6 separate regions of the Homo sapiens genome follow, and all the other regions are linked to region 6. Evidence: promoter capture Hi-C in 16 types of primary human blood cells and fetal thymus (Javierre and others, 2016). All regions are on one chromosome and are shown on one strand. The core of a region is centred on a gene start or on the middle of the fragment in contact, and the rest is flanking DNA. Distances in the headings are between cores, read along the strand shown.

Region 1 (4,428 bases), core at 193-2,692, 290 kb after region 6:
CGATTCCATAAACAGTTATGGAGAACCAGACCCAGTTCTGGGCCTAGTGGAAATTAGGCCCTCAGAGTGCTGCTAAATGGAAGGACTAAGCTCCATACAAATATAAGAAAGGCAGGTAAGTGATTTAGTCCACAGTTTCAAGGACATCATAATTTAGTTGAAGAAAAACAGCCACATAATTAACTAAGATAAGTGCCAACACAGGGACAAATAACATGATAGAATGCACAGAAAAAGATCTGTTATCAACAGAAACTTTTCCAAGCTACAGAAAACCAAAATCAAAAATACTTAGAAAAAAAAAAAAAGGAGGGAAAGAAAATTCATGGGTTCACAAAACTGGTTTGGAGGTAGGGCTGGCCTCAGGCTTAATTGCATCCATTCTCAAAGCTCAGAAATTCTCTAGGCTCTTCTCTCTTAACCTTCACAGTTGGGCTGGCTCCCATGGATGACAAACATAATAATGTAGCATCCAGGGACCTCCATGGAATAGAGAAGAAACTTCCATAAGACCTAGTGAAAGTCTCCATGCATCTCGATGGCCTGAATTGGATCAAGGACACACCCTTAAACCAAGCACGCAGCCATTGATGACTGGCCAAAGCCAAGTAAAGCCCAGGAACAAAGAATGGGTCAATCTCTCTAAATCACATGGTTGATAATGTGGGTTAGAGGTGGTTTCCCCACAGGAATATAACACTAAGGCATTTTCAACAGATGTTTACCACATGACCCTACTAGTTCTGAGTAGGAAGATCACGAATGTAATATACAATGAAATGCAATATATAAGAAAATTATACATATACCCAGTGAAGGGTCTATGAGAACATTAGGTACTAGTCTTGCCAGTTTTGTAAGGACAGAATTATTTCAAATTAGAAAGTAAAAAACATTTCATTTTTTATTTTGGATTCTTATCTGATGATGACCAAACTTCCACAGATAAAAGACATTATGCTTTTAGAATTTGATGATAATAGATTCATAGCAGTAAGATTTGTGAATTTCAAAAGAAAATAAACCACTGTTGGCTGGGCACGGTGGCTCATGCCTGTAATCCCAGCACTTTGGGAGGCAGAGGCAGGTGGATTGCTTGAGGTCAGGAGTTTGAGACCAGCCTGGCCAACATGGTGAAACCGTGTCTCTACCAAAAATACAAAAATTAGCTGGGTGTGGTGGCATGTGCCTGTAATCCCAGCTACTTAGGAGGCTGAGGCATGAGGATTGCTTGAGCCCGGGAGGTGGAGGTTGCAATGAGCCTAGATCGTGCCACTGCACTCCAACCTGGGGCAATGGAGAGATTCTCCATTTCAAAAACAACAACAACCACAATGACCAAAACAAAACAAAAAAACAAACAAACAAAAAAACCACTGTTAGTGTTTGAGTATGAATCAATCTATAATAAACACATAGTCACAAACACTCACACACATTCTATTTTGAAAAAATATATAGTTGGGATATATTTGATGGAGGCATTAGACTCTAGTTTTGGTCAAGAAACTTTCAGGTTCACTTCAGTGTTGAGGCTGTATATATTGATCAGATTGACTGGAAAATTGTCATGAGATCCAGAGAAACAGAGATGCTGTTATCAAAAATTCAGCAAAGAGGGAAGGTGTCAGGACAAAATATGATGAGGGGAGAATTCAAGCCAGTGAGGAGCTAAACTGCAGAAGATATTTACACGGGGCCAAAAGAATTTCTTAGCAAAAAACAAAGTCTACAACAACAAAAAGTCTAAAAGATATTGGACCTGTAGTTACCTACTAAAAAGAAATATAGAAGCAAGAAAGAGTAAAACAGATTTTTTGGTGAAAATCCTAGTTGTGTGGCTTCCCATTTTTTAGCATATGTATCAAAATAGGCTATGCTCCTCATAATCTGACATGTTTTTGGGACCAGTGTTTCATAAGAAATCAGTTCTGTAGATGGTAGAAGAATATCTAATATCTCCTACATAGAGATCTCCCATATGGTAAATATTAATTTTCCAAGAACATGAACAGAACGTTATAAATCTAACATTAAAATAATACTGAAAGCAGGGCTCATAGGAGAAAAGACTGATTCTAAAGCAGGGACAGAGAAAACACAAGATGAGTCTGGAACGTCTTGTGGTCCCAGAAAGTAAGGAAATGATTTTTTTAATGATGGGAGCATGGCAAATGGACACAGGAGTAAACTTGTACCAAACTCTCGATAGCCAATTGTACAACAATGTGGGCAACAAAATGAGTGATGATTGACCGGCCTGGGAAACATAGCAAGACCTCATCTCTATAAAAAAATTTTAAAAAAAATTAACCAGGTGTGGCAGTGCACACCTGTAGTCCCAGCTGCTCAGGAGGCTGAGGTGGGAGGATTGTTTGAGCTCAGTCAAGACTTTGAGGCCACAGTGAGCTATGATTGCACCACTGCACCAGCCTGGGTGACAGAGCTGGAGGGTCTCTAAAAAAAGAAATAAAGTAGATAGTAATGGATTATAGGATAAAGGAAATATCCATGAGACCACACTAATACAAATAAATAACTGAATGAATAAATAGCTCAGAAGAGGTAGCTCTTCATTGTAGTAGAATTCCAATTGATAAATGCAGAAGGATGATAACTAGAAAGTCACCATCTGACAAACACCGCAATGATAATTGTTACTAACAATGATAATTGTTAGTGGGATAATTGGCTAAATTTGAATGACAGCTGCAGATTAGTTAGAAGTACTGTACTGTACTGCTCTTTACCTACATTCCCTTCTTGATTTCCATCGTTGTACTACAGTTTTGTAAGATATTACCATTTGGGGAGTCCAGGTGAAGAGTATACGAGAACTCCATGTACCAGTTTTGCAGCAGCTAAAAGTTAAATGATCTTAAATTAGAAAGTTTTTTAAATTTCATGAAAAATAGGAATATAATTTGCGTCTTCGAGTCTCAGGGGCATTTGATAAACATCGATCACCACTTGCAGAGCCATCCCTTAGGTTAGGGAATCAGGGCAATTGTCTTCAGCCTGAATTTTGGAAGAAGAGGAGGAGTCCGGGGAGGGATTTGCAATAAAGCGGCATCTCCACCGTCAAAAGTGTGCTCAATAAGATAGAGGCCCCCTACCAGAACGAGTCGATGAACCTGCTACTTCTCCACTTGCACATGCACCTCACGCTGGCCATGGCTGCTGTGCAAAGGACTGATCTTCATAAAAAGGTGTGGGGATTAGGGAAGGAGAGCAAGCGGGGAGAGGGAGAGCCCCAGGAGAGTGGGGAGGGGCCTGCCACACCTGGGGTGAGTTGCCAGTCACCTCATCAGGACCAGCTCTGGGAGCTGAACTGAAAAGGCACAAAACTGCCAATCGATAGAAAGCTATTGATAGAACATTTTCATGGCTGTATTTGAAATGCAGTCGATGTCACCCCCCAAAAACAATAATATTTACTTCCATGTCACTGGCAAGTGTGTTACTCCTCATCTCACATTTTAATCTCCAGCACAGTGAGAGAAGCCGAAGTACAAACCCTGCATAAGATGACTGTGAGTACAAAGACATTTGTGATTAGGGCCAGCGGGTGGCTGAATGGAAAAACAAATGGGGCTTCACCTGTGACTCAGACCAACAGCAACCTCGTTTTTTAATATCAGCAAAGCAAATCATTATTTCTAAAAATGTCATGCACACATTTTAAATTCTTAAATGTTATGATGCCACGAATGCTGATCTTTGGTTAAATCTGATTTGAGCCTAACACACTTAAGGGAAACAGAATCTCTTAAGAGCAGAGAATAAGGAGAAAAACAATGAAATTGACCTCAAAGGATTGGACTGGGACTTTTATTATTTAGGTTCCTAGATTTAAACATTTTTTATAGTAATGTTTACTCATTCAAAAACATCTACTGAATCGAATTCTGTGAACTGGTTGTCAAAAATGAAAATCTCCTGGTCTGGTGGAGATTTCTTTAAGACATTCCACCATATAACTTATCACACGCAGCACTTCCCAAATCTTCAGTCATTTGAATAGCATTTCTCAGACTTTTGCCATATCTGCACATCAATTATACTTTTATCTGCTGGATATTTCTCCTTAAGTCACTTCATTTTCTCCAATGTTATTGTAAAAGAAGCATTTATGCAACCACTAAGAATGGGAAAGACACATCACTTGCCATAAGTGGAAAAGAATTATACATGTAAATATTTAAAAAACAGGTATGTCTATCTATATTCCACATAAAAATATCCTACATACCACCAGTGGTATGTAGGCCACAGTTTGGAAAATATGGCAATATAATCTAAATAATATAAATACATCAAAATTTTCAGGATGTACTCCCCACATACAAGAAAGGTTTAAAATCAGAGAACAGACTGAGGCCATTTTAGAGATGGAATGTGTAGTCAGAATAAACACAATTGTGCCAC
Region 2 (4,868 bases), core at 1,442-3,941, 350 kb after region 6:
CCAAGTGGCATCCATACAGATCTGATTACCACTCTTTAACTGAAATATATGGAAGTGTAAATAATTCATAACATGATAAAAGGGCTTTGGAAGATGGGCGTTTCTGCTATGTGGTGTTCACATGGGGAAAGGATGCCCACTTATGAGAGGACAGGGTCCTGCTGCCGCTGCATTGTCACCACAGTCATGTCTACTCTCCCTATGGCAGTTCACAGTATCATTGTCACTGTGAATATTGTCTTTTGCACTTATTACACAAACTTCTGATTAGAGAGGATGTCAAGGCATAGTGGCTGAGAAGCCCATATTTTTGTTCAAGTGTGCCCCAGGGTTCAGTGGCCACTGAGGCCCTAGATCATTCTGGGTTCCACAAACTCAATAATAAATATTTGTCAGCCCAGGCACCGTGGCTCATGCCTGTAATCCCAGCACTTTGAGAGGCTGAGGCAGGAGGATGACTTGAGATCAGGGGTTCAAAACCAGCCTTGCCAACATGGTGAAAATACAAAAGTTAGCTGGAGGTTGGGGTCTGTAATCCCAGCTACTCGGGAGGCTGAGACACGATAATTGCTTGAATCCCCGGGGGTGGAGGTGGCAGTGAGTCAACACTGTGCCACTGCACTCCAGCCTGGGCAACAGAACCAGACTCTGTCTCAAATAAAAAAAAATTGTCATCTTTATCACAAACTGGAGCTATTGCAATTGGATTCGTTGAGCCCTTTCCTCTAGAACACCCTCACTGTAAAAAAACAAAACAAAATTGGGGACTCTTACGGTGGAGCTGTGGCCCCGGGGGGCCATCTGGCATGTCATGGAGAGGAAAAATGCCCCTACACCTGCAGTGACAGCGCCCTCTGCTGCTCCCATCTCTCTGCAGAGATGGGTTGGGATAATGCAGGCAACAGCCACTTAGTGTCAAGTTCTTCACTCAATAATTAGAACCCCAGTTCACTGGAGAGCTTCAACAAACATTTTGAGTGCTGCTTTTCTGCTGTAATTGTAGGCACTACAGAAAAGAAGGTCATTATGAATGCCCTCAAAAAGCTCACAGTCTGATGGGAAATCAGACCTGTACCACCTAGCTACTAGAGGATGCGTGAAATCCTATGTGTGCTTGGAAGGAGGTGTTATGAAGCAGATCAGGGAAAGTACAACATTCTGGGAGGGAAGGGTGGTGGCAGAAAGCTTCACAAAAGAAGCAGCATTTGAATTGGCTCATTGAAGGGTAATGATTTCATGGGGGCAGAAGCAGTTGAGGATTCTGGCTTTACTTTGAAAACACTTACGAGGTGGAGGAGAGGCTGGGCTTGGTGGCTCATGCCTGTAATTCTAGCACTTTGGGAGGCCAAGGCGGGCAGATCACCTGAGGTCAAGAGTTTGAGACCAGCTTGTCCAACATGGTGAAACCCTGTCTCTACTAAAAAAGAAAAGAAAAATACAAAAATTAGTCTGGCACAGTGGCATGTGCCTGTAGTCCCAGCTACTCTGGAGGCTGAGGCAGGAGAATCCTTGAACCCGGGAGGCAGAGGCTGCAGTGAGCCTAGATCATGTTACTGCACTCAAGCCTGGGCGAGAGAGCGAGACTCTGTCTCAAAAACAAACAAACAAACAAACAAACAAACAAACAAACAAACCAAACAAGAGGTGGAGGTGATAAGCTTCCCAAATATCCTTTTGATTAATCTTTCCAAGTTGCTGGCCTTTTTTCCCAAGCTTGCAGGTTTCTTAAACATTCATTCCACTGGTTTCACCTGTCTCAGATCATCTCCTTGTTCAATGCAGTGGTTCTCAGGAAAGTTTGGACCACCAATCAGAAACATCACAATTTTGTTTTCTTTCTTTTTTTTTTTTTTTTTGAGATGGAGTCTCACTCTGTAGCCCAGGCTGGAGTGCAGTGGCACCGTCTCTGCTCACTGTAACTGCCTCCCGGGTTCAAGCGATTCTCCTGCCTCAGCCTCCCGAGTAACTGGGACTACAGGCGTCCGCCACCACGTCCCGCTAATTTTTTGTATTTTTAGTAGGGACGGGGTTTCACCGTGTTAGTCAGGATGGTCTCGATCTTCTGACCTTGTGATCCGCCCGCCTCGGCCTCCCAAAGTGTTGGGATTACAGGAGTGAGCCACCGCGCCCGGCCCAACATCAGAACATCCTAGAAGTAGGAACTGGGTAGAAACGCAAATTCTTGGGCCCCAACCTAACTGCTGAATCTGAAGCTCTTGGAATTTCATCTGATACAAATTCAAGGTTGACAACCACGGTTCTAACATGCAGGATCTTGGGAGCTGATACAGAGGCCGAGAAGGATCTAGGTTGCTTTCCATGTTCCATCATGGCGAGACCCGGCTGAAGTTCCTGCCTTGACCTTCTCGTGCACGCTTCGGACGTGTGGAGCAGCCACCAGGGTGGGCTGGGGGCATTGTCTTCTTGGGCAGTTTCTTGGTCAGGGTCGTGTCTGCTTGAGGGCAGAGGCGCTGGCCACAAGGCCCTGACTCAGACTCATATTTTCCCCTCAAGAGGACAGAGCCTTAGCAAAGCCGTCCCAGCTGGCTTTGGGGTAATGCTGGCCTTAGTTATGCTGAGCGATGCAGCCCTCCTGAGGTCATTCGGAACGCCCGGGAGAGTGGCCACTCCCGCCCCAGAGGGGGAAGGGTGGCCGGTTTCCAAGTCCGACTTGGTCAGGTGACCGCGGCGCGGCATACTCAGCGGCAGAGACGGAAGAACAGCGCTCCCGAGGCCGCGGGAGCCTGCAGAGAGGACAGCCGGCCTGCGCCGGGACATGCGGCCCCAGGAGCTCCCCAGGCTCGCGTTCCCGTTGCTGCTGTTGCTGTTGCTGCTGCTGCCGCCGCCGCCGTGCCCTGCCCACAGCGCCACGCGCTTCGACCCCACCTGGGAGTCCCTGGACGCCCGCCAGCTGCCCGCGTGGTTTGACCAGGCCAAGTTCGGCATCTTCATCCACTGGGGAGTGTTTTCCGTGCCCAGCTTCGGTAGCGAGTGGTTCTGGTGAGTGCGCTCCCTTTTGTCTCGTCTGCCGCGCTTTTGTCCCCACCCGCAGCCTCCAGCCACCACCCAGCGGGCCTGGTTCGCCGCCTGGTGCTGCCTGCACCCTCGTCGGTTTCACCTCCCACTGCGTTACCCGCGTTTCGCACTTCCGGGTGTCGAATATGTGGTTTCCTGCCTAAGTGCTTCTGCTGGATGAACAGGGAATTTTTCTTCCGTGTGACTGTAAGAGTTTTCAGATACTCCTGACTCCTCAGCTTCTTCATAGTTGCGCATATTAAGCTGTAGTTATGACACTACAACATCGAGCTACTACAGACATTCATCAGTTTGTGCAGGGGCATCACACGAGCGGTGACTCAGGCACAATGGCCTATGGTTGCTCTGCTGCTACCTGCCAATTTACAGTCGTTCTGCCATGAAGTTATGGTTAAAACATAGTCATGAGTATGTGAAACGACTGTTCATTGAACACCATTGGCTACTTAATGTTAACATGTTACCCATGTGTGGCTCTAGGAACTTTTTAAAGAGGTTCTAGAATGGTACTCTTAACACAACCCAGTTATCATACTGCCGTATGAAAGGTGCTACACAAAAATCTGTGCGTTAGATTTTACCTTGAGATCTATGTGAAAATGTGCATGTAATTTCTTAAACTGTTGCACATGTCTTTTCTGACTAAATGCTACAAGTATTAAGTCCTTCAAAACAGAAATATTTTGTGTGCATATATAGAAACATACACATAATATATTCTTTTTTTTTTTTTTTTGAGACATAGTCTCATTCTGTCACCCAGGCTGGAGTGCAGTGGCACCATCTCGGCTCACTGCAACCTTCGCCGCCCGGGTTCAAACGATTCTCGCGCCTTAGCCTCCTGAGTAGCTGGGACTACAGGCGCACGCCACCATGCCTGGCCAATTTTTTTGTATTTTTTAGTAGAAACGGGGTTTTGCCATGTTAGCCAGGCTGGTCTTGAACTCCTGACCTCAGGTGATCCGCGGTGGCTCATACCTGTAATTCCAGGACTTTGGGACACATAATATATTCTTAAGTAAAAGAACGGAATCATTAAACAGTATTTATTTGAATCAACTATATACTACATAAATAGTATACATCCAAATTAACATACTATATTTAGTAGACACAATACAGAGTATGAACTATATATTATATTAACATTACATAGTATACATGGTACCATGCTCTACTCTAGGGGTAGAAAAATTACACCTCCATTCTGTTAGGGTCTCTGCTGGGTCCAAGAATTAAATTGACATTGTGTGACTAAATTATGTGGGGAGACTTAAATAATAAATTTTAGCAAGTTCTGTACAGTATTCTACTTCTTGTCTTTGAAGCTTAGGATGTTGCCTTTCCTTCTAGTACAGAGTGCCTTTCATACTGGAATTTCATCTTCTCTCCTAAGAAACAGCACAAAGGGCAAAGTGCTCTTCATGCACCTGCTATTTTTCGAGTTTCTTTACCTTTAAAAATGTGCCAAAATAGCATATTTTAACCCTTTCATGACAAAGAAATTGACTACCTGCAACCAGTAACCTTTCTTATTGGTAGGTCAATTGATGTAAAAAATAAAACTGGATAAGCTATGGAGAATTATTCATATTTTAAATAATTCACCTTCTAAAACAGAGACTCTTTATTCTTATGCCAAAACATAGCTACTTCAAAAAGATGTTACAAATCTTTATTTGCATGTTTTGGGCTGTAAGGAATCTTGAGCTTGTTTTGGAAATATTTTAGATTAGTGTGGTACATAATTAACAACTTTCTTCCCCCTAAATTGTATCTTATATTATCATTTTGTTCAACCATGAAGATTAGGTAAAGATATATTGGTGCCA
Region 3 (5,197 bases), core at 2,675-5,174, 340 kb after region 6:
GGGGTGCCTTTGAACTCCCGTTTCCTTTGTCTGCAGCATCATCCCCCGCCTTCTCTAGCATGACCTAATTGACCAACTGTCACTCATCCTTCAAGCCTCAGGTCAAGCGTCTCCTCATCTGTCTTAGTTTGTTTTCTGTTGCTTCTAATAGAATACCTGAAAGTTAGTAATTTATAAAGAAAATGAATTTTCCTTATAGTTATGGAGGCAAAGTCCAAGGTCAAAGGGTCACATCTTGGTGAGGGCCTTCTTGCTGGTGGGGACTCCCTGCAGGGTCCGGAGGTGGTGCAGGGCATCACATGGCGAGAGGGCTGAGCGTATTAGCTCATGTCTCTCTTCCCCCTCTTATAAAGCCACCAATCCCATTCCCATGATAAACCCATTAATCCATGAATGGATTATTCCATTCATTAGGGCAGAGCCCTCATGATCTAATCACTTCCTAAAGGTCCCACCTCTCAATACTGCCAGGTGGGGGATTAAATTTCAACAAGAGTTTGGAGGGGACAAATGTTCTTTTTTCTTTTTTAATGTGTATTTTTTATTTCAATAGCTTTTGGAGTACAAGCGGTTTTTGGTTAAATGGATGAATTATATGGTGATGCATTCTGAGATTTTAACGCACCTGTCACTTGAGTAGTGTATGTTGTACCCAATATGTAGTTTTTATTCCGTGCTCTCCTCTCACCCTCCCCTTTCTGAGTCTCCAAAGTCTATTATATCACTGTCTCTGCCTCTGCATACTCATAACTTAGTTCCTACTTATAAGTAACAACATACAGTATTTGGTTTTCCATTCTTGAGTGAGTTCACTTAGAATAATGGCTTCCAGCTCCATCCAAGTTGCTGCAAAATACACTATTTTGTTCTTTTTTATGTCTGATTAGTATTCCGTGTTGTATATATACCACATTTTATTTATCTACTCATTGGTCAGTGGGCACTTAGGTTGGTTCCATATCTTTGGAATTGTGAATTGGGCTGCAATAAACATATACGTGAATGGGTTGTTTTCATGCAGTGACTCCTTTTCCTCTGGGTAGAAACCCAGTAGTAGGATTGCTGGATTGAATGGTAGATCTACTTTTAGTTCTTTAAGGAATCTCCACACTGTTTTCCAAAGAGGTTGTACTAATTTACATTCCCACCAGCAATGTATAGGCATTCTGGAGGGGACAAATATTCAAACCACAGCACCATCCAGGAAGCTTTCCTGACACTTCCCCAACCTCCAAGCCAGGTGAAGTGCCCATCCTAAACAGTACCATCAGGCTCTTATGTCACTTTTTACACAGGATTGCAGTGGCTGGGGTGCTAATCTGTCACCCCTACTCCCTTTGAGCTACCTTAAGACAGTAAGTACTGATTCTTGCCTTTATTTTCCCAGCACCACTGTGTATTGAATGAATGAATCAATAAATGAAGTCTATTTGGGGAGTAGACATTAACAAATAATTACTTGGCAGTCCATGGCAACTGACAAAACTGAGATTTATGTAGAAGGGCTGAGGAAACTCAGAGGAGCAGTCACCTAACCCGCTTGGGGTGGAGAACCAGGGAAGGCTTCCCAGAGGATGTGGTGTCTGCAATGCAAAGGCACCCCCGGATGAGGAAGGTCATCTGCAAGGACAGAGCCTTGAGGACCTGGGGCTCCTCTGGATGCTGTAATGTAGCACTGCAGAAGAGGAACCCTGTGGGGAGTAGTTCAGTTTTGAACCTGACGAGGTGGACAAAGGTGGGCTAGGATTCACTTTTCAAATACCACTAAGTCTATGCAATCCTAAAATGATTAGGCATCCTGCTTATTTGAGGTTTTGTTTACTTCCAGTTTTGTTTATCCTGTCCCACCTATGCTATAAGATTTCTTTTTCCGGCCGGGCGCGGTGGCTCACGCCTGTAATCCCAGCACTTTGGGAGGCCGAGGCGGGCTGATCACGAGGTCAGGAGATCGAGACCATCCTGGCTAACACGGTGAAACCCCGTCTCTACTAAAAAATACAAAAAATTAGCCGGGCGTGGTAGCGGGCGCCTGTAGTCCCAGCTACTCGGGAGGCTGAGGCAGGAGAATGGCGTGAACCCGGGAGGCGGAGCTTGCAGTGAGCGGAGATCGCGCCACTGCACTCCAGCCTGGGCGACAGAGCGAGACTCCGTCTCAAAAAAAAAAAAAAAAAAAAAAGATTTCTTTCTCCTTAGACTTGTCCCTTGGTACCACGGACATGTTGGCCAGCACGTAGGAAATGTGCCTGTTTGACACTGATTTTAAAAAAAGAGGCATCCAGTACAGCTTTTCAAAGCAAAATGTTTCTAAACTCTATTAGTTTATTTAGCTATTTTCATTGAATACCATTTCCAAAAGGTTAGGGATAAAAACTGAAGATGAAATAAGCATAGTTTTAATCATATAAGAGTGTTTAATACCAAAAATAAAATTAAAAAAAATAACAGAAACAAAAAAACTGTACCTCACTGCTTTACCACTCTCTTTAAAGTGATGACTTATGTAAGATTATAAAAGAAATAAATGAAAATTTATCAACTAGCTTGTTCCGCCCATCAGTGCTAGGAACACTGCCTTCAGCAGGAGCCCAAATGTGGGCTGGGATCTGTCTCATCTCTGGCCAGTGTCTTCCTCCTCCTTGCTGTGCCAGGAGCCCCTCTTAAAGCCACAGTGCCACTTGGAGGGCTCTTTATACATTGCAGATTCACTTACAGAAGGAGGAATTGTTATTCAAAGGCTTTAATACATAATGAAAGCTATCCACATTTCATAAATTAGACAAGCTAGGGAGCTAAACGACCTTTGTAACTGAATTTGTCCCTATTTCATCACTAGTAGTCTTTAGATGCATGAATGTGGATTTTTCATGGTAATGGAAACAGGTGTGACACTCTGGTTAAAATCAAAACTTCCTGAAGGCATTCCTTGAGACAATACCCATCCCCTTCTAACTAATTATTTTTATAATTGCAGTTTTCTTTTGCTATCTTCCCCATCCCCCAAATATATTAAAAAGTTTTATTTCTCAGAGTTTATATGCAAAACATGCACATAAAAATATGGTATGTTTTCTTATGAAATATTTTCCCAAAATACTTGGCATTAGAACTAAGTGTCTTTCACTGACAATAGCATTTCCTTAATATAGGCAGATAAAAATGACTGCAAGTAAGAGAAAGATCAAAATATTATCTGAAAAGAAACGGCAGAGATCAAAATTGACGATACACGATGAAAATGAAATAAGAGAAAGGCAAGGAATCCAGGTAATCAGCAGAGTGAGGATAAATCACCATCTGATAGTGAAAGTAGGCCTGCTTTTAAAGTCACTTAAAAAAAAGAGAGAGAAACAAAAAACAGGAAGTTAGTTTTGATGGTCTCTAAGGCCTCTTCTGGTGTGGAATGTGATGGTTCTGTGAAATTTTTTCTTTGTTTTCATTTTAAAATCGAAGATGAATTCATTTTATGAGAGAGGCCAAAGCTGGCTCATAGTTTTGAGCCCATCCCACCATTTCCCTCTAGAGTACCAGGCTGCAAAAGTAAACACCTCCTTTACCATGCTCTCTTCCTCCCACTCTTCCTTTCTTCTTCTTACTCTAAAACAAACTCATAGAAGTGGAGTGTAGGATGGTGGTTATCAGAGACTGGGGTGCGATGGGGTGGATGGAGAAAGAGGAGATGTTACTCAACAGGTCCAGGGTTTCAGTCAGTCAGACGGGAGGAGGAATAGGTCTGGTGCTGTATCGCAACAGCATGGTGACTATACATATTTTGGAATATATACATTTTGTGGAATAATGAAAAGAGAGCATTTTAGGTGTTCTCACAACAAAGAAATGATAAATATTTGGGCCAGATGCAGTGGCTCACGCCCGTAATCCTAGTTTTGGGAGGTTGAGACAGGCAGATTGCTTAAGCCCACGAGTTCAAGACCAGCCTGGGCAATATGGCAAAACCCCATCACTACAAAAAAACTACAAAAATTAGCCAGGTGTGGTGATGTGCACCTGTACTCCCAGAGACTCTGGTGTCTGAGGTGGGAGGATCACCTGAGCCCAGGGAGGTTGAGGCTGCAGTAAGCCATGATTGAGCCACTATACTCCAGCCTGGGCAACACAGTGAGACCCCATCTCAAAAAAAGATAAATATTTGCAGTAATAGATAGGCTAATTGTCTTGATTTGATCATTCCACAATCTATACATGCCTTGAAACTTCATGTATGCTATAAATATATGCAATTATTACTTGTCAATTAAAAATACAATAAAACATAAATAAATTAAAACAGCTACTATGTCCTAACAGGCTCAGGCTCTGTGCTGGGCACACAGAAGTGAATAGGAATCTCTCTAATCTTGGACTAGCAGCATAGGAGACAGGGGTGTACAAACTACAGTGGAGAGATAAAGGAGGGAATAATTGACCCTTTTGGGGTGAGTCAGGAAAAGTTTCAGGACACAAGAAGTGGCTTATACAAGTGAGTAGGGATAAAAAAGAGGAAGAGGCAGGGAAGGCATCCCAGGCAGGGAAAATACCATGCATGCGGGCCCAAGGCAGGAAAATGGAAGCGAAGAGGAGGGAGGTGAGTATGGCTGGAGGCTTGGAGGAGAGCGGGGACGTGCTGGAATGTGAAACAGAGGCCTGTAAAAAGATTTAGGCACAGAAGAAATGTGATCAGCATCACTGTCTTTTGCTTCAATTTTGATACCTCAATTTGATCCCTAAGTAATGCATACGTTTAATTTGTGGTGGTGTTTTCAGGATTGAAATTCGTGTATATAAAGCACTGGGTGTAATGAATGGCATGTAGTAGGAGCACTGCTCTAAGACATTCAGGATACACATTCTATTTCTTTGTTTCTATAAATCACACCTAGCTCAGCTCCTTCTACAAACATTGCCTAAAAGACATTTTCCAGGATGCCTTCCTTGTCTTGAACCAAACAAGAACTTTTGGGCTTATGAGTGTAGGAAGACAGGAGGGGACTATCTTGAGTGTTAGCCTCAGCAATTGCTGCTTCTGTGACTCTAACTCTCTCATTGAAGGCAAGTGATTCACTAGGGACTCCTTCCATCCCTGCTACACTCAGCCATGGGTTTTTTTTTCTTTTATACCTTTATTTTTAATTGACACACAATAATTGTGCATATTCGTGGGGTACATAGCGATGTTTCAATACATATAATGTATATGATC
Region 4 (5,110 bases), core at 1,840-4,339, 310 kb after region 6:
ACCTGTACTCAAAGGCCAGTTGGGAAACAAAGAGCATGAGCTCGACTTTGTAAAACGATCTCTACCTCCTCGCATTGGAAAAACGCATGAATGTATCTTAGCACTACAGAGGTCATTGGTACACACTCCTTACCTTTCTCTACCCAGAATATTACTAAAGAAAATGACAAAGGAGACAGGAATAAGTGAAATAGTGAGCTTTCTGGTCTCCCCACCATGTAGCCTAAAAAATGAAAATGGACATGGAAACAGTTAATTTCATCCTCATAACAGATCTGACACTCAATTTTTTTAAAACCTAGTAGTTTTACTACATATGAATTTAGAAATTTAATATTTCTAATGCAAATAGGACATGTTTACATAGTAACGGGAAAGAGGTAGGTGAAAGGGAGAGTTGAAGATTTTGAAGCAAAAAAGTAGACATCTTTTTTCTCCTATCATATTTTTACATGTAAATAGGGGAAAACTCTTTCTTAAAACACAACCACAATATTATTTCACACCTAAGAAGGAACATTAATTCCTTAATATCATCAAATATATCCAGGATAACTTTTTTTTCTTACACTTTGAATAAGAATTCAAACAAAGTCCATATATTTTGATTGTGCAGTGTTTCTTATAAATCTCTTTCCATCTATAGGCGCTGGATCCAGGGCAAAAATGAAGACATAAGGGACCTTAGGTGACAAGGAAGAAGCTCCCAGGCAGCATGTGGGATGGACCCAAGGAGAACGTCAGAGAGAAAGAGTTCAGTCTGGTGTCTCCTGAAGCAGGTGAGGTACACCTGGACATGAAGGATCCCATCCATCCTTCAAGGGTATTGCTGAGGCAGGAATGAGAAAACAAAACAAAGCAAAGGGGGAAAAAAAGCACAATTCTCATGGAAGATGGTTCCAGCTTATTCCGTAGAACCCTGGCCTAATTTTACCTTCAAGAACATGACCTGACTTCGCTTCCCACTGACAAGGTGTCAACTTTTACATTTCTATTGGGGTTCAGGCAAAAGAAACAACACGCCTGTGTTTCAAAGGTGGCAGCATGCTGACGAAGGAGGGTGGGGTACGCAAGGAACTGGTTGCCTCTAGGACTCGCGACAAGACCTTACGGAGAAAGAAGTCAGCCAAGGAAAAACGACTGGAGTGTGGAAGAGTCTGGAAGAGCTGGACCAGGTCCACATGGTCCGGTCAGTTCTCGAAAAATCGAGACCCTGTGTGGTGAGGGTGAGCCATCTTAGCAGGAAGGTATACCTCCCTGCCCATGCCACCTCCAACACTTCCAGACCTTCTCTTCCCTCCTTCCCCAATCCCACCCAAAGCTCCAGTTCCAGCAAATGTGGGAGTGCAACGAATGGGGTTACGGCAGCAGCCCTGAACTTGGACTCAGAAGACTTGGCTTTAAATTCTGCCTCTGCACTTACTGGCTGTATGACCCAAGATGATTTACCTCCCTCTCCACTTTCCCCATCTGTGAAATGGGGCAAATAAAAGTCCCACTGGATTCAAAAGGTTATGAGGATGAAATATGGTTGAGAGATGAGAATCCTTTTAAACTTCTCTGCAATACTAGTGATGATGATGATTAAAGTAACTTACTTGCAAAATAATGTGAATGGCCATTACCTGGCCTTTAACCCTTCAGGAAGTGTTTACTCTTCAAAGGGAAAAGTTTGTCAAACCAAGTGAATCCTCTTGCCGAACCACATGGAGAACATATTTTGGAGAGAGATGGTAGGCGAGCTCCTGTGGCCCTCTCTAACTGAGGCTGGGGTTAGGGAGGGAGGCCCTTTCTTTCTGGCCTCATTTTTGTTTCAAAAGGAAATGTGGTCTCTCTGAGGGAGGAGGACAGACAGGCAGCATATCTTCTCACGTCTTTGTGCATCATTTTTATTAGTTCCTGGCCCATATTTTTAAAAAAGAATACTTACTCTTAAATGACACACTTTAAAAGCATGCTTTTCTAAATGGCAGCAATTGGACCCCATGGTGTGGCCAGTGCGTTGAGTCTGAAAATTCCATGGTGATGCGTCGCTGTGGTCCTGTGGTGATGTACGTCTTCCTTCTCCTCTAGTTAGCACCCTGTGAGCTGAGAGGTTCAAATCTGATAGCAGCTGAAAGCTTCAAACCTAGAGTCCTCCAAGCTGGGAAGCTGAATTGCTGCTCTAGGGCTGCGTTTAGATTGATTTTTTGAATGCTGTCACTGCAGAGGAGCTAGTCAACTTTTCTCAAAATATTTTTTCTCATCTTTTTCACTTTCCTCTCTCTAGTTTGACATACGGAGTTATGAATGTACTTTCTGGTTTTGTTATATGCCTCAATTTTTATTTTTGATGATTCTATCAAGCTGGCTGCCTTCAATGTTTTCTCCATTTAGTAAAATGCACTACTTCCTGTATTCCTCACCTCCCTCCACCAGATATTCACTCTCCTGGCCCACGCCTTGTGCCTGGCACGCAGGAGCATTGGAGATGCCCCACACCTAAAGTCCATACCTTAATGTCCTGAAATAAATAAATGAATTTAAGGAAGAAAGTCTGAAATGAACTGGGGCCGAATTATACAGTAGCTGGTATCACAAAATTCTAATCAAAGCTAGGGACTTTAGTAATGATCCCTGCCTGAAGTCCTAAAAGCATGCTCCTTTGTTAATTTCTTAACCATCATGAGTTTTCACTGTCCCTTCTGCTACTACCTTCAATGTAACACTACAAATAGATTAATTACTAAGAGTAAAAGGTTTGGTCTCTTTTCTTTTTGTTTTTTTTCTGTTTCTTTTTAAAAAAATTAATTGTGAAATAGCAAATTTAAAAGGATCATTTTTTTGAACAACAGTCTTTAAAAAAAAAAAAAAAGCTAAATGTCATAGTGCCCTAAATTCTTTTGTGTCGGTGGTGATTATATTGTATGTCAAGAAACCATCCTGAGGTGATAATTAGATTTTATCTGCAAATGGAGGTGGGAGGATGAGAGTAGGTGGTAGCGTCAACATTTCACCAAAACAATAAGACAATTCACACGATGAGGTAGGAAAAATATTACTCAAACAGCTGGCTGGGGCTACTGTGTGATTAAGGGAATTTTGACACCATAATCATCTAGGGTGGGGGTATATTTTATTTGCCTATGGCCAGACATTTAGGAAGGCAAACTGGAGCAAGAGGAAAAGCAGGAAAAAATAGACTGATAACCAAAATGTAAAATATTTCTGTGTTGATCATCAGGGAAGTGAATAACACAGGCCACAAAGACCCCTTTTTTTCCCACAGAACTTTTCAACAGATGGTTATACTAGTTGTTTCAGAATTAATACCAAGGATTGAGGGTTGGAGGCATGCAACTTAGAAGCAGTGCTGGTGTGAAAGTGATAAGGTTTTTGGCTCCAAGTAACACCTCCCAATTTGTACAGCAACCACAATAGAAATGTGCTTCAGGCAAGGTGGCGTCCTACATTTTAACTTACCCCCAAGAAAATATCCTGAATTTCACAGGTGTTCTCAGTAATATGACCTGACTGAAAATAGCTTCTCTTCTGTATTTTTCCCCAGGTTAAAATTAAGCTCGGCAGGCTCGACGTAAATGTGCAGACAAAGCAAAGCAGGAAGCCTCCCACACTAAAAAGGGAAGATAAGAATCACAGAAGCTGGGATGGTTTTTATTGAAGGGCATTTCAAAGCAAATACAGACATCTACAGCATATTTGTAAATCCTCCGTATGTGTATGGAAACACACACCTTCACACATCAAAACTGGATTTGTTCCTGAGTAACAAAACGTCCTAAGAACAAAATGAAAGAAAACCAAATAGCAGAAAAATACTTCCAATGTATATACCACAAAGGATTATTTATCAACTCAACACACCAAGAGTTAAGAAAATAATGCAACAGGAACAAAGGGCAAAGGATATGTACTGGGAAGACCACAGAGAAAGAAAATGCAAATGGCTAATAATATAAAATATTTCCTAGGTTCAATAGTAATCAGGGAAAGACAAAATTACACTTTTGACCTCTTAGACTGGCAGTGACAAAGATTATTTGAGTGACCAAGCTTTAGTCAGGCTCCTGGATCTTCTAGGCCCATCTGGGCACTTCCTCGTAAAATACAGTTTTAACAAAAGCCCTGCTAAATTGGTTTACCGAGAACTCCCACCCTCAATCGAGTTCCTTAGCCCTTCACCTTTCCTCAGGTGAGGGCTGATCATCCTGTCCTGTCTTCAGCAAGACTGCTCTAACGCTGACGTTTCCTTTTAGTAATTTTCCATCCACTGACACCCACTTGTAATTTATAGCCAAGGAGCAAGATACACTGCTCCTTGGCTATAAGTTATTTTCCCTGTTACATTCAGAGTTGAGCCCAATCCCACTCCCCGACTACAAAATCGATAGCAGTGGTCCCTATACCTATTGCAATGGTCCTAAATAAAACCTGCCTTACCGTGCTTGAACAAGTGTCATCGAATAATTTTTTAACAGCAAATTGTTGGAGGTAAAGACATTTTTAAATGTCTTCAATTAGTTTAGCTACTTCCACGTAATGTTAAAATCTCCATCAATTGGCTAGTTACTGTCCCTTCCTGAGAAGAAGCAGACACCATAGCCCTGCATACTGTGGATTCACTCCTAAGTTGATATTGATATGAATGAAATAGTTATCTCCCAAACTTTGCTTTCTACATTTGTATCAAAAAACATGATGCCCCTCTGCCCAGCGCCCCCGCCACTGGATCCCCAGTCTCACTCAGAGAAAATGTCAACGTCATTGCGGTGGTCTACAGGGGCCCAACCCGGGATTCTTTTCTGTTCCTTGGGGCCTTTGCCCTTGCTCTTCTCTCTGCCTGGAAGGATCACCCCTTAACTTCTCTCAGGCCTTTCTTCAAATGCCACCTTCTCAGTGGGGCCTGCCTTGGTTGCCATACTTAAGGTTGCAATCTGCACACCTTCACCCCGGCACGACCTATACCCTTCCTCTGCTTTGTAATCACCATCTAATATTGTTTATTTAGTTTGTGTATTGTCTCTGTCTCCCAGCAAGACTCTTTTCTTGATCAAACTCTAGTCAGCTCCCCTGAGCCCTCTTCTCAACTAGGCCTCAACCTCAGCCTATA
Region 5 (5,119 bases), core at 937-3,436, 260 kb after region 6:
TTCTGCAATGTCCTGCTGTACCCAAGGGACAAAAGCAGAGGTCAAGGCCAGATGCGCAGCTCCTATGTAGTAATGGCTCTAAAAGAGCTCCACATGAGAAAGGAGCAATCAGAGCCAGGCTCTGCTTGAATGGAGAGTCCTGGCTCAAGAAATGAGGTTGGAAAAACAAATGGCTGATGCCTTAGTTCCAGGAGCCATGGCTTTATAAAGCCTTGAGGGGCAGGGAGAGGATAAGTCTTCATAATCAATAATTAACTAAGCTTCACGTGGGTCCCTAAATACTGGATCGGCAGTATGCCCTCAAAATTGAGCAGAAATTTCCTCAAGATGTCATTAGAAAACCTGACTAGATGGGAAGGTTAGAGGGACAAGGTGGAGATGACTTCAAAACCATAAAACTATTAGGGAGGGGGAGAGCGAGAGTGAAAACAAAACTAAAGGAACTAATGTTAGGCAGCACAATGAGGTGACTATAGTTAACAATCGTATTTTATATTTCAAAATAACTAAAAGAGTGGAATTGGAATGTTCCTAACATAAAAAATGATAAATGCTTGAGGCAATGAATATCTCCATTACCTTGATTTGGTCATTACAAGTTGTATGATTGCATCAAAATATCAGATGTAACCCATATGTATAACTATTATGTATCAATAATAATTAAAAATTTTTTAAAAATTAAAACCACAAACAAGCAAACAAACAAAAAAGACCTTCCACTGAAAATGAAGGCATGAGTTGAATTCCAAAATATTTTAAGATTGCTAATACATAAAAAGCGTGGGAATGTATTTCTCTTACAGTAACAATGCAGAAGAATGAGCAAAAACAAAGGACCATCTGGGACCCAGGAGTCCACACAGATGGCACTTACTCAGCAATGAATCTCAAAGTGAATGCCCTGGTGGCTGGAAAACTAAAAAGCCTATCTCCGTGAAAGGCACAAAAGGAACTCTGCCAAAGTCATAGAGAGAGGGTTCCTCAATATGTGAAATATGTTTAGCTTTTCTAATAAAACCAGTTAACCCAAGAGTGCTTAGGAAGCAAATTCTGACATCTAAATGAGATTTCTTAGGTGTCAGTCTAGTGTGCCTTAGCCCAGCATTGTACTCCTAAAAAAACCTGCAAGCAGCCCTCTGAGAAGGAGGCTCAACATTGGCCTGGCCCTGCAAAAACATGTTGGGGAAGCTCTGGCCATTGCAGTGAAAATCAATTCATCAGACACTTTGACCAGCAACCTGTACAGATCTAAAGGCCATCCCAAGACGGCCTTTTTTTCCAGAAGATTCTGATTTTCTCAAAGAAGATTCTGGGCTTTCTTCCTTCTCCTCCAGAATTGGAACCCACAACTGACACCTGTATCTGAGTCTCAAGCCAGAGACCACAGCTTTCATTTTTTGAACATTGACTATTTACCAGGCACGGTGCCTAATACTTTCTTTATGCATTTATTTCATTAAAACATAACAGCAAGAATGAGTTTGGTACTATTATTATTCCCATTTTATAGATGAAGAAACTAAGGCTTGGAGAGGTTAAGAAATGTGCCTCAAGATGCACAAATGATAGATCTGGATTCAAACTCAGGTCTTTCGTATTGTAGCATGTTCATGTGTCATCTCTTCATTCTACAATATTTACCAGGAATGGCCAGGCTCAATGTATAGGCCCAACTTCTTTTTATAGAATCTTATTTTATTGAACTTCTGCTTTCAATGCAAAAGCATAATTTCTTTTAAAGCTTCAGGCTTCTGTCTCAATTTGACTAATGAAATGTTTAAAGCTATTCTTTTTGCCTTGGCAAAACAAAACAAAACTAAACAAAACAATCACTTCGCCCTCAATAGCACTCAATAGTCTTGGTATGAAAATAAACATGGTAGAATTACTGCCTGTAAAAGGCATTGAGATACAGGCCTCTTTCTAAATTCCAGGAGATGGCTGCATTTAAAAATTATTCCTGAAGGAAGACTAAATTATAAATCTGTAAATCAAAGCAGAAGGATATATGCTTACCATTATTTAGCTCAATCTATTTATCACTTCAAGGATTTTTAAAAATAGTTTTTAAGAACTGTACCTATACTTTATTATGGCCAATGCTCAAAAAATTATTGAGTTGGCAGCAATGCCACCAGGTCACTGGAATGCAGAGGAAGGCATCTGTTTGACATGGTGCTGACTATTGGCAAAAAAGGGCTTCTGAACATATCGATCAGCCAAAGGGGTAGCCTGTTGCTTAAAGGGCAGTTACAGCTGCTTATGGATGAGTCTACTGTTACAAAACCAGCAAACAAAGGGAAAAACTGGTTCAGAGAAGCTGCTTCAGGAATATACAGCTTGCACAAGTTCTCTCCACAAGCCACCAGTTAGTTGGAAATATGATGGGTACCCATCCTAATAACATAGCAAGTTCCCCTCCAATGATGTGGCTGGCAGGCTCATGCCGGCCGGACGGCGGGCAGCCTGCTATCCATACTCAAAAAGGTGATTCTCTCTAGTAGACTTTAAGAAAGGGTCAGACTACTGTTTTCTCAGATTAGAATCATGAGCTGCCAACTGGTAGTCTAATCAAATCCAGCTCACTGACATGATCATTTGGCCAGGCCAAACCTTGAAAGCTTTAGACAAGGCATCTGCTCTGAGTTTGCCAAAGTTTCCACCACTCCCAATTGTCTCACATTGAGCTACACACACTTACATGGCCTGCCTGGCTCCTGAAAGCATTTGGGCCCAAGTCAGCAGAATGGCCTGCTGACCTCTCAAATCCCTTGCAGACTCATGACTCTATAAAGAAAGGGTGGTATGTCTTAATACAGCATAGAAAGGGGGAAAGGTATAGGTTGGATCTTAATGAGCTGTTCTTATAGGCTAGCAAGGGAAGCACCCTTTGCAACTCAAAAAATTTCCTCCGTAGGCTGTTTGGGATTCATCAAACAAGTATTCTAGGCTCTGCTTGACTTAAATTTAAATTAATAAGCATTTCTTTAGTAATACGACATTTGTTAAGTTGGGTTACTTCTTATCAAACATGTATTGATTGCTTCCATGAAAGACGTAGAAATCTTGTCAAGGTCTTCCTCGTAGCTCCCAGAACACTACTGAGTACTCAACAATTGTTTCTAGAATAAATACATGACCAGATAAGTGATGGATGAATCAATAAACAGTGTGGTCCAGGCAGGGCCAAAATTCCTAAAAATGCCTAAAAAGCATGTTACTTTTTTCTCTCATGAATCAATTTCTGCCTGATCTCCTTAAATAGCCTAATGAAAGTTTAGTTTTCTCCTACGAAAGTACACTTGCCATCTAGTAGTTTTATTTTTTTAAAGAGTATTAACACATAGGCTTTAGATTAATTGAGAGAATGATTCTTTTTCACCATTCTGCTTTTGTCTCCTTATCCAGGACTTCATTGAAAAAAGAATTGGAGGTGACCCCAATTTTTCAGATCAGCTTAGGACACCTAGAGCAAAGCGCTGAGTACCCAGAGGGTCATCAATAAATGCCTGACTGATTTAACTGGGGACTGACCTCTCTGACTCCTCCCACTGCCATCATTGTTCTAAAAGAGTCAGGGGTGAGATGCTATCTAAATTTAATTACAAAGGACTAATCTACTATGTTTACTATTCACGCCACTAAACCTGGAACAGATAACAGAAAGCATCAATGCCAGCCATTTAAATGGCTCTAGGTGGACTTGTTAGGACCACAGCAAACACTTAGCTAGTCTTTGAGACATGAGGTCTAGTGATTCCTCTAAGGGGGTCATAGAAAGTTCCTGGGAGCCATAAAAAAAGGAGATAAAACATCTGCATCTGATACGAAGGACAAAGCCAGGAAAGGCACTGGATAACAGTCAAGGTTAACCAGGTTCTAACATATCCACAGGGACATAGGCCAGGAAGGGGAAGCCATGTGGTTGTTCTTAGAGAAGTGCTTTGCCATCAGATGACTGCGATCCCTCCCTGGCCCACACTTCTGCTTTTACTTTCCTTTCCTATTATCTTTTCATCAGTATTAGTTTCCTGTTGCTACTGTAACAAATTACCACCAATTTAGTGGCTTAAAACAGCCAAAATTTACTCTGATGGTTCTGGGTCAGAAATCCAAAATTAGTCTTATCTTGTAGGGCTCAAATCAAGGTGTTCTGAAGGGCTGCATTCCTCTGGAGGCTCTGGCTTGGTCTCTTCCACCTCCTAGGCTCAGTTGCATTCTTTGGTTACAGCCTCATTGCTCCAAAATTTGTCTTCATTGTCACATTGCCTTCTCCTCTTTTAACCTTCTTGTCCCTCTTATAAGGAATCCTGTGATTACACTGAGCCCAGCCAAATAATGTAGGATCATTTCGCCCAGGATCATTAAGTCAACATCCTTAACGTCTTCACATCTGCAAAGTCCCTTTTGCCATGTAAAGTAACATATTCACAGGTTTAAGGGGTTAAGATATGGTTCTTTTTTGGGGGCGCGGGGGGCATTCTTCGACCTACTATATCATCACTGTCTTAACAAACTACATGCATCAAGTCACCTTAACTAAAGTTGCCTCTCCCCAGGAACAGGCTCAGAAACAGCCAAAGCCCCCACCGCTACTTCCGTAGGTGCACCTGAAGTCTTGCGTGCTGAGTAACAGGTAGAAAATATGGCAGGTGGTAGGAGGAGCATCAGGAAGGGCACCAGCAATGGGCTTTGAGCAGGTAATGAAAGAGAATTTCTCAGGATAAAATGGTAGCGAAATTATAAAAAAGAATGTCAATATAATGGACCTGGAGGATTTCCAATAATCTAGCTCTATATGGCATTCCAAAGCCTGGGTCCAGCATGTTCAGTGGCTTAAAGGAAGAAGTGTTTAGGTCAATGCTGAATAAAGACTTTAAAAACCTCTATGCTAGAACACAAATGGAACCATGTATTGTTTGAAGGGGGAATCAGATCTCCTTAATCCTTTTATCACTGGCTCCCATCAGGAAAAACAGACAGCAGAAGAGGAATCCAAGAGTCCAGGACAAATTACAACTGAACTCTGCAAAGATGACATATGTAATACACCTTATTCCAAACATGTTTGCTCACATTTGGCATGTGGGTTGTAGAGAGTAGGGATTTCACTTTA
Region 6 (4,453 bases), core at 450-2,949:
CTATGATATCCAAGTGGTTTTACACCATTCACGGGCAGTGCTTAAACAAAATAGGTGGGCCGGGTGTTGGCGGCTCATGCCTGTAATCCCAGCACTTTGGGAGGCCGAGGCGGGCGGATCATAAGGTCAAGAGTTTTGAGACCAGCCTGGCCAACATGGCGAAACCCTGTCTCTACTAAGAATACAAAAATTAGCTGGGCATGGTGGTGCACACCTGTAATCCCAGCTACTCGGGAGGCTGAGGCAGGGGAATCGCCTGAACCCGGGAGTTGGAGGTTGCAGTGAGATGAGATCGCACTACTGCGCTCCAGCTCGGGCGCCAGAGCAAGACCTGTCTTGGCAAAAAAAAAAAGTTTAAGATACAAATTCTTCAAGATTTTGCCCCCTGCCTGGATCTCTTAGGCCTTTCTCTCCTCCCTAACCCCAGTGATTCTAGGCCCTGCTATGGTTCTATGTTTAATTCTTTTCTGAAATCTTTCCCATCTATCCATTCATTCATACACTACTTTGTGACTGTATACTGAATGCCAGGCACCCTTCCAGACCTAAGGATAAAGCAATAAATAAAACACTGTGCCTTCAGGGTTTGTCCTGCGAGAGGAGACTGAAAAACAGTCCTCTGCGTCAACAGATGTTGTGGAGAACATAAACCAGGGAAGGAGGGTCAAGGATGCAGGGGAGGGATGCGTGCAGGATTTTTAAATACAAGCTCAGGGAATAGCCTATAGTGAAGGTTACAGCTGAGCACCAACCATGAGGAAGGTCTGTCTGCAGTGAAAGCACTTCTGGGGGAACAGCAAGTACCAAGATTCTAATTACAAGTGGTACTTACCACGATAGTATTGCCAGTTACATTTCGCTGCACCTATCCTGCCTCCTCAGACCATGTGGCTCCTGAAGGCAAAAACCCTCTGATCTCTTGGGCTCCCAACATTTAGCATGGAGCTTTTATGTTCAGTTCCCAATCATCATTTATAGATTTTTAGAGAACCAAGATATCAGAAAATTCATTTAAAGTATCATGAATTTGTTCTTCAGAATAAAATTAAAATATTTAAGTTTGGAGTATAACCTGCCTAAATCACAATATGCTTCATCAAGACTCATGGCCTAGTCTTTTTCTCTTAATTGCAAAATATATAATATATGGATTTAAACACAGTGAAGTTAGCACCTCATAACACAGAATTTGAGTAACATGACAAAGAAACATCCAATGCCTATTAAGACTCTTGCTGTTTTTGAGAATCTTCAGTTGAGACAGCTATCAAAATAAATGGCCAATCCTTTTAGTACTTACATTCTCAATATTGACATAAACCATCATCTGACCCTTTACTTCACAGGTTGGCATTTAAATACATTCTCTCCAGTATCCTACTTCTGCAATGACAAGCTCTTCAGTCAAGATTTTTTTCTAGCCAATGTTGGTAGAATACCTAATGCCATCAGTTTTGACAACTCTTTAAAAATCCTACAATACTTAGATTTAAACGGATCACACATGGTAGAACAAGCTAATACCTACCAGCTTTGGAAAAGCCATAAATGAATGATTACAGATGAAGGCATTTTCTAATAATTTAGATATCAAGTGCAGCTCACCTGCCAAAAATGGTTCTGCCCCAGCCATTCTGTTCCTAACTCAGAGCAACAGTGTTCACAGATTTTTACAGCCCAGTCCAGATAACATCATACTAGTCAAGAACATAAACCAGGACCACTAATCTGTTGCAAGAAGTCATAGTTTACCAAATAATCAACAATTGTGATGATGTCATTGCCTAAACCTTGAAAAAGTTTAAATCAGTTAAAACAAAAATCAACTCATCAAAAACAGGGAAAGTTTTCAACGATGTATTTTAATCAAGTATGAATGGTTCCAAGCATTAACTGATGTTGAAAAGACAAACTCCCCAGTTTAAACTGAAATAAATATTTCTGATTTTGAACTAGGGACTCACTGAAGCCAAATAAGTTTTCTTATTTCCTTGACTATTCTGTTTCCTGCCTTCACTGTTCCTAAATCCCAAAAGCAAGTCATCCAGTAATATAACAGGAAATATGAATCTTAAGAACCTTAATATTCAGTTTTGCCACACTTTTGAAACAGTCCTTTGTATACAGCAAGGGAAAACTTAGCTTCCTAACAGTGGAACCTTCTCAGAAAAACTCATCTTACACTAAACAGAATAAAGTCAGCATTTCAAAATTGAGTTTAACCAGGCCACTTTTCTATTTACAGCAAATTAAACCATGTAATTCCTGAAAAGGCGTGGAGAGGATTCAAAGAAATATTTGAAAACATCTGCAAAAAACAACTATGACAACCATACAAATAAATGAATACACCAATTCCATTCACGTTATGAAGATATTTTCCTTTAATTTATCAAACATTTCACATTCATGAAGTCATTTACTTCAGAGCAAATGTAAGCTTATAATATTAAAAATTAAAGTATTACAATATTTACAAGATGGTTGGCAGGGGACACTTACTAGTATAAAAATAATACAAATATTGTATTTTCCTCTTATCTGCCAGTAAAAATGGCAAACAGTTTTGTCTTTCTGAAGTTTCTAGTCAATAACCAAAGATGAGGAGCCCCTAATAAAGTGCCTTGCCCTGTATGCTCCACTGTCTATAGCTTTAGACCCTCAACATTCTTCTTCAAGTTCAGCAGCTCTTTTTCTTGCCTTCTTTTCTCCAGTTTAAATGCTAATTTGTTAGCTTTCTTCTCCACTCTTCGTTCCTGTTATAAGTACAAGAATATACTTGTATTATTCACATCTTTAAACTGATACAGACTGCTTTTACAAAATTCCCCTAATTTCCCCTCCACCAGCTCTTTGTAAATCTCACATTTGAAAAATATATTTTACCTTGCGCTCTTCTTTTATAGCTTGCTTTCTTGCTCTTTTATCTTCTTTGCTTTCATTTTTAGAACGTGGCTGAGTTGATACTTTAGGAAGATCACTGCCATTAATCATCTGTATTCTTTCAGTTTGCTTTGCTGTGAGTCCTTTCTTTGGTAAGACATTGAGAGGTATTCCTGTTTTAGAAGATATTCGAATTTGTTTGGGCTGAAATACAGATAAAATGGTACTAGAGTTACTTCTCATTCCTATTAAAAAATAGCTCATTAATGACATACTGTTGATGCTTTTTCTAATATCACTCTAGCCATAAAGATAAAAAGTTATTGTGCGAAAATGTGCACTCTATTTTTTATGCACTGCATCCTTCAAATAGCTCAGCACACTAGGACTTACCTTTGGTTGATACTTGATAAGCTGTGGATGGTTATATAAATTTGAGTATGTACCTAAACAAACAAATAAAAGTCATGTATCAGTAAGCATGTTTTCAGTTCCACAAAGCATTACTGAATTCCTACTATATTTCTGACCTTGTGTTTTCATAGTGCAAAATAACACTGGAGTCTCTGATCAATGTTTTATAAATTGCTTACAACTCAGTATTGGAATATTACTCTTTCCAAATAATTTTTCACAAATTTCCTAAAAGCCTAACTCTTATTAAAATATATGTATTTTTTCAAAGTTGATATATGTTTTTTTTTAGACAGAGTTTTGCTCTTGTTGCCCAGGTTGGAGTGCAATGGCATGATCTCGGCTCATTGCAACCTCTGCCTCCCAGGTTCAAGCTATTCTCCTGCCTCAGCCTCTCGAGCAGCTGGGATTACAGTTGCCTGCCACCATACCTGGCTAATTTTTGTATTTTTTAGTAGACACGGGGTTTCACCATGTTGGCCAGGCTGGTCTTGAACTCCTGACATCAGGTGACCCACCCGCCTCGGCCTCCCAAAGTGCTGGGATTACTACAGGCGTGAGGCACCGCACCCAGCCTAAAGTTGATATACTTTAATACTTTAAAATTACTATCATAAAGTGAATATACTTACTACAAATAGATTCACAATCCCACTTCTCTTTGGCTTCTTCAAGGACTACAGTAATCATTTCTTCCTCCTCAGACTCATCAAGCTCATTCATTGGCAGGTCTTGATCCTCCAAGGGTTCAAGGGTATTCAATTTTACACAACTTTTAGACGAGTTTTTAAAAGTGAAGACCAAGAGGGGGAAAAATGACCTATTATTATACTATGTCACTAAAACTGCAATTTTTAGCTGTGGAAAAACCAATGTTTTAAATGCACATATTCCAGTGACCCATCCGTTATTTTCTGTCAAACTCTGTTCTACCCAGCCCTGCCTCTTCCCTCCAGTGAGTTTTGGACATTCACTCGGCTGATAGGAAGGTAACATCTAGCTGTGTCTTTCCAAGGCAGCTTCCTAAGAAAACAGGTTTTTAAAGCCTAAAAAAGCATAACTCATCTGTCTCTGCAAAGTATTCGAATATTTCACTCAACTATATAGCTTCTTTTTCTGCTATGGGATCTATATATTATAGTGATCATGGAACATC

What was found. Contacts are between HindIII fragments. The CHiCAGO score rates a contact against its expected background, and 5 or more counts as called.
Region 1: a fragment that was not itself captured here is called in contact with the fragment with the promoter of ZC2HC1B in region 6 in 6 of 17 cell types (M2 macrophages, M1 macrophages, M0 macrophages and 3 more); the score reaches 11.9 in M2 macrophages.
Region 2: the fragment with the promoter of FUCA2 here is called in contact with the fragment with the promoter of ZC2HC1B in region 6 in 3 of 17 cell types (M2 macrophages, erythroblasts and M1 macrophages); the score reaches 6.5 in M2 macrophages.
Region 3: a contact is called between a fragment that was not itself captured here and the fragment with the promoter of ZC2HC1B in region 6, in 1 of 17 cell types (megakaryocytes). The highest score is 5.1, in megakaryocytes.
Region 4: a fragment that was not itself captured here is called in contact with the fragment with the promoter of ZC2HC1B in region 6 in 4 of 17 cell types (M1 macrophages, erythroblasts, megakaryocytes and 1 more); the score reaches 7.6 in M1 macrophages.
Region 5: a fragment that was not itself captured here is called in contact with the fragment with the promoter of ZC2HC1B in region 6 in 5 of 17 cell types (erythroblasts, megakaryocytes, M2 macrophages and 2 more); the score reaches 9.2 in erythroblasts.

Annotation. Positions count from the first base shown.
Region 1 is chr6:143,569,457-143,573,884 of GRCh38, reverse strand. It overlaps a transcript of PHACTR2 not described here. Among named protein-coding and RNA genes, the nearest start is that of PHACTR2-AS1, 2.3 kb to the right of the region's middle. The HindIII fragment of the contact is 7,387 bases long and covers 1-4,428 here.
Region 2 is chr6:143,509,543-143,514,410 of GRCh38, reverse strand. It overlaps FUCA2 (alpha-L-fucosidase 2), which reads left to right and starts at 2,691. Exons shown (of 7, transcript NM_032020.5): 1 at 2,691-3,000. The coding sequence starts at 2,777. It overlaps LOC105378035 (a long non-coding RNA gene), which reads right to left and starts at 2,626. Exons shown (of 4, transcript XR_007059796.1): 1 at 1,635-2,626; 2 at 1-1,417. RefSeq lists enhancers at 1,731-2,391, 2,413-2,592, 2,703-2,832, 2,392-3,054 and a silencer at 3,255-3,458. The HindIII fragment of the contact is 2,651 bases long and covers 1,716-4,366 here.
Region 3 is chr6:143,526,756-143,531,952 of GRCh38, reverse strand. No RefSeq gene overlaps it. Among named protein-coding and RNA genes, the nearest start is that of FUCA2, 18 kb to the right of the region's middle. The HindIII fragment of the contact is 5,428 bases long and covers 1,211-5,197 here.
Region 4 is chr6:143,553,668-143,558,777 of GRCh38, reverse strand. PHACTR2-AS1 (PHACTR2 antisense RNA 1) reads left to right here. Exons shown (of 3, transcript NR_027113.2): 2 at 647-779; 3 at 3,548-4,663. It also overlaps a transcript of PHACTR2 not described here. Among named protein-coding and RNA genes, the nearest start is that of PHACTR2-AS1, 13 kb to the left of the region's middle. The HindIII fragment of the contact is 1,933 bases long and covers 2,123-4,055 here.
Region 5 is chr6:143,597,446-143,602,564 of GRCh38, reverse strand. It overlaps a transcript of PHACTR2 not described here. Among named protein-coding and RNA genes, the nearest start is that of PHACTR2-AS1, 31 kb to the right of the region's middle. The HindIII fragment of the contact is 880 bases long and covers 1,747-2,626 here.
Region 6 is chr6:143,861,720-143,866,172 of GRCh38, reverse strand. It overlaps ZC2HC1B (zinc finger C2HC-type containing 1B), which reads right to left and starts at 1,699. Exons shown (of 8, transcript NM_001013623.3): 1 at 1,606-1,699. The coding sequence starts at 1,633. It overlaps LTV1 (LTV1 ribosome biogenesis factor), which reads right to left. Exons shown (of 11, transcript NM_032860.5): 8 at 3,930-4,069; 9 at 3,277-3,329; 10 at 2,887-3,087; 11 at 2,361-2,756. The coding sequence ends at 2,646. The HindIII fragment of the contact is 3,305 bases long and covers 1-2,442 here.